Linked DNA regions of Homo sapiens: region 2 is linked to region 1. The links are contacts of gene promoters, found by promoter capture Hi-C in human tissues and cell types (Jung and others, 2019). All regions are on one chromosome and are shown on one strand. The core of a region is centred on a gene start or on the middle of the fragment in contact, and the rest is flanking DNA. Distances in the headings are between cores, read along the strand shown. Region 1 holds the start of ZNF35 (zinc finger protein 35). Region 2 overlaps LIMD1 (LIM domain containing 1).

Region 1 (3,971 bases), core at 1,320-3,819:
TCAAGTATCTCCTCCCCTCTTCCTCTCAGGCCCCCGTTTACCTTTTCTTCCTCTTCTGATCCATCAAGGCCTGTCTGAAGACCCTGCACTGGGGCCCAGACTTTGATGTTCTCGGAGTGCACTTGTTGGCTGGATGCCTGACCTGGGAAGTTTTCTTCTTCTTCCTCCTCCTTTTTCACCTTCACTGGGCCCCATGGGGCTAGGGCCATGGCTTCTCTCAATTCTGCAGTCATCTTCTCTGCTCAGCAGGGGAACTCCTATAGCTGGGCGCTGCCCTGCAGAGGTCAAACCCCATCCAAGCTTTATGTTTCAAAAGCTTCTTCTTGAGTTTCTTCCCAGGGCCAAGATGAGTACTGCCTACTGAGAAATCAGAAAACACTGTTAGCACCAAGGAGAGATTTGCTGGATGCCACTTAGCAAATTTGCCGGATGCCACACCGGCAAATTTCACCAGCGCCTGGCCAGGGGCCAATGTAGGACATGGAATCCTCTATTCCTCCCTCATAGGATGAAGGGGTTGGACTATAAATATGTAATATCTTCCCATAATAACCACATTGCAAACAGCTTTATATAATGTTTATTGATTTTTTCCTGATTAAAAGTTAACTTACTTTTATTGTAAAAACTTAAAAGCAGCAAATGATTAAGAAAAATCATCTCGGTCTACCTCCAAAGAGATAACCACTATACATTTTAAGATTTAAGATATTTCTTTCAAAGGAAAATCTCCAACCATACTACTAATAATTATGATTTTACAAATTCTTGTTTTTGACTTTGGGGATACATATTTTCACAATTATCATCATAGCATTTTTTAAAAAAGGATTTTACAACAAAAAGATTTTTTATTGCCAAGGATACAAAATAATGTGAACAAAAGGATCCCAAGAAAAAGACTGGGAGTCTTTATACCAACGTGTTAGCAGTGGGTAGTTAACTCTGGATGGTGTAATTACAGGTAGTTTTAAGGTTCTTTTCATTTTTTTTGTTTGATTTTTACATTTTCCATAGCTTCCAAATGTCCTGTGAGATAAAATATTACACTTAAGATTTAAAAAAAGATTACTTTCATGTTGCCATTCTTCATGCTTATTTTAAATGCTACACAATAACCTATGGTGTTGATAAATCTTCACTCTCATTGAAAAAGGATCAAGTAATACAGAAATATATAGAATTAAATATATAACCTACACACACTACACACACACACACACACACACACAAAGTACTTATCAGTTTAGATGGGAGTCCTAACCCATTTTCTCTGCATTTACATACTTATATGTTCACCTTCACACATATTGCTTATTTTTCAAAAACATACTTTAGATCATCACAGTTATATACTGTTCAGCAACCTGCATTGTTTTTTAACTCAATTTCCGTATTTCACAATAGTCTTAACAATCTTTCAATACAACACATATAGAACTACCTCATTCTGGCATAGTATTCTAAATTGTGGCTATATTATCATTTACTTAATCATATTCTATTTATGAACCATTTATTTAGTAAAAGTTTATATTTCCATTTTATTAATATTTAAAAGTTTTTCTTTGTAAATATTTTTTTTTTGCTGAATTATTCCTTTAGAATAATCAGAGAATTACTGGTTCAAGGATTTGCTGGTTGATATGTACTGTCAAATTGCTTTCCAAAAGCACCATGCCAATTCACACCCCCACTAATTGACAGTAACCCTTTATCACAGCTAAGCCAGCAGGGTTTTTGTTTTTAACCTGTGAGCAAAATAACCTTACTAGTTTGATTGCTTATGAAGAGATTGAAATTTTTCTTTCTAACCCCCTTTGAATGTTTTATTGGAAAAGGGTGCGAAATCTTATTCAATCCCCTGTTGCTGCTATTGAAGTGATCATACTCTTTTCCCCATGTCAACTTACTGGCCACTTACTGTATACACTGAATTTATTAAGTAATGCAATACTTTCATTCCTGTGACAAACCTTAATTCTGGAGGACTATTCTTTCCATCACTATCCGAATTCAATCTGGTATGAAGGTCCTTAAGACTAGTTCCACCTTGTGTATAAGACTGCCTACAGTGAGTACTCTCATCAGACTTCTGATCAGATTCTGACGGACCTCCGGTCCCAGACGGCACAGGGCCCTCTATCAAAGGCTCCCTTTCAACGTCCTTTCTCTATTTCCAAACGTGGCAATCCATTCTTTCCACGTATAGGCTCCTCGCGGCCCTGTCCCTGGGACCTATCTGGCCCCTTGGCCGGTCCGTGTGCATCCTCTCCCGGACCAGGCCCCAGGTGGGCAGCAGCCGGGATTCCGAGGCGGTGGGGAACTCACTGCCCCCCGCACCCCGACAGACAAGGCTGGTGTCCCCGGGGAAAGGACGCAGGGGCCGCTCCTAGGGCCATGGCCCCTGGGAGAGCCCCTTTTTCTCCCTCGACGTTCGTGCCCACCCCCTCCGACCCCACTCACTGTGCGCAGCTGAGAAGCCCGACCTGAGTTCACTGGCTCTGCAGCAGGAGGCTGGCTGACCGGTACTTCAGCTTCTACCGGCACGAGAACAATGACCGGACAGGAAGTGCCTCGGGATGGGCTTCCGGCTCCCCAAGTCGCCAAGCCGGCCTCTCTAGGAACCTCGGAGGTGCTTTCCTCTCGATGGGTGTCCAATGTCGCCCCAGACCAGGGATGGGGCAGAAGCGCTTAGGAGGATTGTGCTGTTGGAAGCTCTAAGTGAGCCTCAGGGAGGGGCGCATCCCAAGCAGGGATGAGACACTCAGGCGAGGCGCGCACCCAAGAGCCTGAAGCTACACAGCATTAATCTGTAGAAAGCCCTGATAATTTCCCCTCAAATGTTTTATTTTGAAAATATCAGAGTACAGAAGAGTTGAAAGTATGGCACATTGAATACCCGTATTTTCCATGTGGACTCAACAATGAACATTTTGCTATGTTTGCCTGATCTCTCAATACATATTTAAAATCATTTTTTTGAAAGTTGTAAACATCAGAACACTTCATTCCAAATACTTCAACATGCATCCCTTAAGATTAAGAATATTCTTCAAACTACCACCACCGTCACAGGTAAGAAAATCAACAAAAATTCCCTAATACCATCTAATAACCAGTCATATTCAAATTTCCCAACTGTCCTAAAACATGTATTTTATAACTTTTTTTCAAATCAGTTTCACACACTTTAGTTGGTTACAGCTCTTTAGTTTTGGGTTTTCGTTGCCATTGTTGGTTTTTACTTTTTATTTTGAAATGATAGAATCACAGGAAGTTGCAAAGATAGCACCCTTCACCCACTTTCCCCTCATGGTTACATCTTACATAAAATGAAAAAGGAAATCAACATTGGTACAGTATGTGTGTATAGGTATAGCACCTATAGATTTGTGTAACCACCACTGCAATCAAGATACACAAGTGTTCCATCACCACAAAGACCTTTCTGGTGCTACCTTTTAATAGTTCCATCCAACCCTCTCCCCATTTTTCCTCCCACCATCCCTAACCTTTGGCAACCATTAATCCATTTTTCATCTCTATAGTTTTATCATTTTGAGAATGTTATATGAATATTTTCATACAGAATATGGCCTTTTGTGATTATTTTCACTCAGCATTAATTCCCTTGAAATTTATTTGAGTTGTTATGGATATCAATAAGTCAATTTTATTGCAGAGTAACAAGTATTCCATGGTAATACATAAACCACAATTTGTTTTAACCACCTAAGGAAGGATATATGGGTTGCCTACAGGTTTCGACCATTACAAATAAAGCTGCTATGAACATTCGTATACAGGTTTTTGTGTGAACGCAAGTTTTCATTTCTCTGGGATAAATGCTCAGAAGTGCAATTCCTGAAGCATGACATATACATGTGTGGTTTTACAAGAAACTGCCAAATTATATTCCAGAGTGGCTGTACCATTTTACATTCCCAGCAATGTATGAGATCCTGTTT
Region 2 (3,865 bases), core at 1,306-3,805, 1.0 Mb before region 1:
AAGACTCAAGGGCTGACTTGGAAGTCATCCTACGCTCACCTTCCAGCACCTCCTATCTGCTTGGAAAGATGCCAGCAAAGCATTTGGTGGCAGGACAGCAGAGGCAACACAAGGGGGCATCCAAGCAACAGTCTCTTGTGAAGATGCAGTTTCCCACAGGCATTTATGACAGTCACCTTGGACATATGCTCCAGGACCATTGTGACCGCCTATCAGGAGAGTCCTATACATTGGTTAACTATTATTTTCCTATCTTTTTCTCACCTAAACTGTAGAAAACACACATTGTTGGAAGGATATTTTTGTTTCTCTTGACCTAAAACGAGTAGGCGGGAGTGGGAAAAGTTCAAAGCACCCTGATTCCTTGGATGGAACTCTTGCTTCCATAAGGCTAACACAGGTAAACATCCTTTATCAGTCCCTCTCATCTCTTATGGAAAACACAATGGGGCTGTGAGCTCAAGGTCAGCAGAGGGTGTCCCGGGATCCCCTACTTGGCAGTATTCACAGATCTGAGGGCATTTCCAGTGCTAGGCTCAACACATACTCAACAGGCAATGTGGGGGTTTCAGAAACTGAATGAACTCTCTGCAAAAAGTTAAACCAAGCCCTTTGGGGCCAGCCCACAAAATGAAAGTAAAATCATCATTGTCACAAACAGTGCCCGAGATACAGAGAAACCCGCCAGACGAACACTGGCTGCCCTCGCCTGGTGACGCCCACAGGAGGCAAAGCAGCGCAAGGCAGATAGCGACAAGACTGTCAAAGAACATTCCTCAGACCTCAGAGAGGACCCTGAAAGCATCAACGCAGCGGAAAAGGCATAAAAAAGGAAGTAACTTTAACTACAAATCCATCTTCTTTGCTGTGGTGGTCGTTGCTACCAGATCTAGTGTTGTCTGAATGTTTCCCCCAGCCCTCCTGTAGGTTCCTGTAGGACTTTTTAATACTCTGAGTATATGCTACATTCCTTGAAGATATAGCTAAGTCAGCTTCATACTTGGAGGGGAAGCTTTGGCAATACTCTAACAGAGTGCAGTACATGTTGAGTTAAAGAAAAAAGGAAGAGTAAGCCATGGATCAGAAGATGGCCAAAGCACATATAAAATGCTATTAGTATCTGGCCGGGCACAGTTGTTCACGTCTGTAGTCCCAGCATTTTGGGAGGCTGACACGGGAGGATCACTTGAGGTCAGGAGTTTGGGACCAGCCTGGCCAACATGGTGAAACTTTGTCTCTACAAAAGGTACAAAAATTGGCCGGGCACAGTGGCTCAAGCCTGTAGTGCCAGCACTTTGGGAGGCTGAGGCAGGTGGATCACCTGAGGTCAGGAGTTCGAGATCAGCCTGGCCAATATGGTGAAACCCCATCTCTACTAAAAATACAAAAAAGAGCTGGGCATGGTGGCATGCACCTGTAACCCCAGCTACTTGGGAGACTGAGGCAGGAGAATCGCCTGCACCTAGGAGGCGGAGGTTGCAGTGAGCCGAGATCATGCCACTGCACTCCAGCCTGGGTGACAGAGGGAGACTCTGTCTCAAAAAAAAAAAAAAAAAAAATTAGCCAGGCATGGTGCCACGCACTACTTGGGAGTCTGAGGCAGAAGAATCACTTGAACCCAGGAGGTGGAGATTGCAGTGAGTCAAGACTGGGCAACAGAGCAAGACTCTGTCTCAAAAATAAATAAATAAAATAAATTAAAATAGTATTAGTACCTAAGACACAAAGAACACCAATTAATAAGAAAAAGATAAATAATCCAATGGGGAAATGAGCAAAGGGCAGGAAGAGAAAGTGCATAGAATAGAAAACCTGTTATACCTTAGGAATAACCAGGATTATTAATCATAACCCCAATATCTATAATAAAAAGATGTTCTATCCTATCAACAATCAGGATAATGCAAACTAAAACCACAATGAGATTCTATCTCACTTTCATAGATTGGCAAAAATTACTAAATCTAATAGCATGTCTTGGAAGGTGTGGGACAAGAGGAGCCCTTTCACACTGGTGGGAGTATCATCAACTGGGATGACTACTTGGGAACAATTTGTCAAGGGCCAATAGATCTGAAAATACACATAATCCACAACACACTTCTAAGGTTGCCCCTTGAGAAGATTACCCAAACATGCATGAGGACAGACATGTATGGATGTTCACGGCAACGTTGTTATGGAAAAACTAGAAGCGTCTTCAGTGTTCACTAGATATGAGAATTGATAAATAGACGAAGAAACTGGAGCTGTATTTACTGGATGTAATACCAGACAGCAGTCAAAATGAAAGGGCTAGATCTATGCATATCATTATTAATTGAACTGAACACCAGTGCAAATAAGGCAAAATGCCTGAAGATATACCAATGATCGTATATGTGTAAGTTTGAGAGTGCGCACACACACATACACAAACTAGTACTGTTTTGTTTTTTTTTTTTGAGACGGAGTCTCGCTGTGTCGCCCAGGCTGGAGTGCAGTGGCACGATCTTGGTTCACTGCAGCCTCTGCCTCCCAGGTTCAAGTGATTCTCCTGCCTCAGCCTCCCAAGCAACTGGGATTACAGGCACTCACCACCATACCCGGCTAATTTTTGTATTTTTAGTAGAGATGGTGGCCAGGCTGGTCTCGAACTCCTGACCTCAGGTGATCCACCCACCTCGGCCTCCCAAAGTGCTGGGATTACAGGTGTGAGCCACCATGCCCGGCCACAAACTAGTACTGTAAACTAGTACTGTATGTTTTTTATTGACAATAGTATATATGGTAACAGTAGGAAAATTTCAATTCATAATGGCAGCTGCCCTAGGGAAGGAAGGGAGAGGATGGGAAAAGGAATCAAGATGATTCCAATTTTTATATAATATTTTATTTCCTTTATAAAAATACAGAATCAAAGCTACAATGTAAAAATGTCTGTGCATTCTGGGTGATAGGTAAATAAGGATTATTTCCTATAGTACTTTCCAGTAGGTTTTAAAATACACACACAATTTTTATATATTTAATTTCCTTTATAAAAAATATCAAACCAAAACTATAATGTAAAAATGTCTGTGCATTCTGGGTGACAGGTAAATAAGGATTATTTCCCATAGTACCTTCCAGTAGGTTTTACACGCGCACACACACACACACACACACACACTTAGGTGAAACACCGTAAACGAAAAGGCAATAACAAACTAGAGCAAACATCTATACTGTATGACAGAAAAGGATGTAACTCTAATATGAAAATAACTCAAGTAACAGTCCTATATAAAAAATGGGTAAAGAATAGGCAGACAAACCACAAAATAAGTATGAATGATCAATAACTATAAAATAAAATCTTTAGCTTTCCTCATGATTTAAAAAATATTGCTGCCAGGCACAGTGGCTCACACCTGTAATTCCAACACTTTGGGAGGCCAAGGTGGGAGGATCACTTGAACCCAGGAGCTCAAGACCAGCCTAGGCAACACAGCAAGATCCCATCTCTACAAATAATAAAAAAGTTAGCTAGGTGTAGTGGGGCACGCCTGTAGTCCCAGCTACTTAGGAGGCTGAGCTAGGAGGATCACTTGTGCCTAGAGGTTGAGACTGCAGTGAGCTGAGATCACGTCTGTGCACGCCAGCCTGGGCAATAGAGTGAGACTCTGTCTCTCCAAAAACAAACAACAACAAAAAACCCTATGCTTTACCTATCAGACTAGCAAAGCTTAAAAAGAATGATAACCCCAGTGTTAGTAATGACACAGACAAACAGATACTTGTTCACACTCTGCAAGGGATAGCAGAAGCTAAAACAAGCTCTTAGGAGAGAAATTTGTATTAAATGTCAGTAGAATTTACAAAGTTCAGATATTTTCTCCCCAAA

The links. Contacts are between HindIII fragments. The study calls those that stand out against the background at their distance.
Region 2: a fragment that was not itself captured here is called in contact with the fragment with the promoter of ZNF35 in region 1 in 1 of the 25 tissues and cell types used here (heart right ventricle).

What each region holds. Positions count from the first base shown.
Region 1 is chr3:44,647,330-44,651,300 of GRCh38, reverse strand. It overlaps ZNF35 (zinc finger protein 35), which reads right to left and starts at 2,569. Exons shown (of 4, transcript NM_003420.4): 1 at 2,467-2,569; 2 at 42-360. The coding sequence starts at 233. It overlaps ZNF660-ZNF197 (ZNF660-ZNF197 readthrough), which reads right to left. Exons shown (of 8, transcript NR_147692.2): 8 at 2,830-3,971. ZNF197 (zinc finger protein 197) reads right to left here. Exons shown (of 6, transcript NM_006991.5): 6 at 2,830-3,971. The region is part of intron 2 of ZKSCAN7-AS1 (ZKSCAN7 ZNF cluster antisense RNA 1); the gene reads left to right. RefSeq lists enhancers at 2,087-2,196, 2,277-2,446, 2,325-2,884. The HindIII fragment of the contact is 5,730 bases long and covers 1-3,971 here.
Region 2 is chr3:45,661,563-45,665,427 of GRCh38, reverse strand. The region is part of intron 2 of LIMD1 (LIM domain containing 1); the gene reads right to left. Among named protein-coding and RNA genes, the nearest start is that of LIMD1-AS1, 25 kb to the left of the region's middle. The HindIII fragment of the contact is 5,401 bases long and covers 1-3,865 here.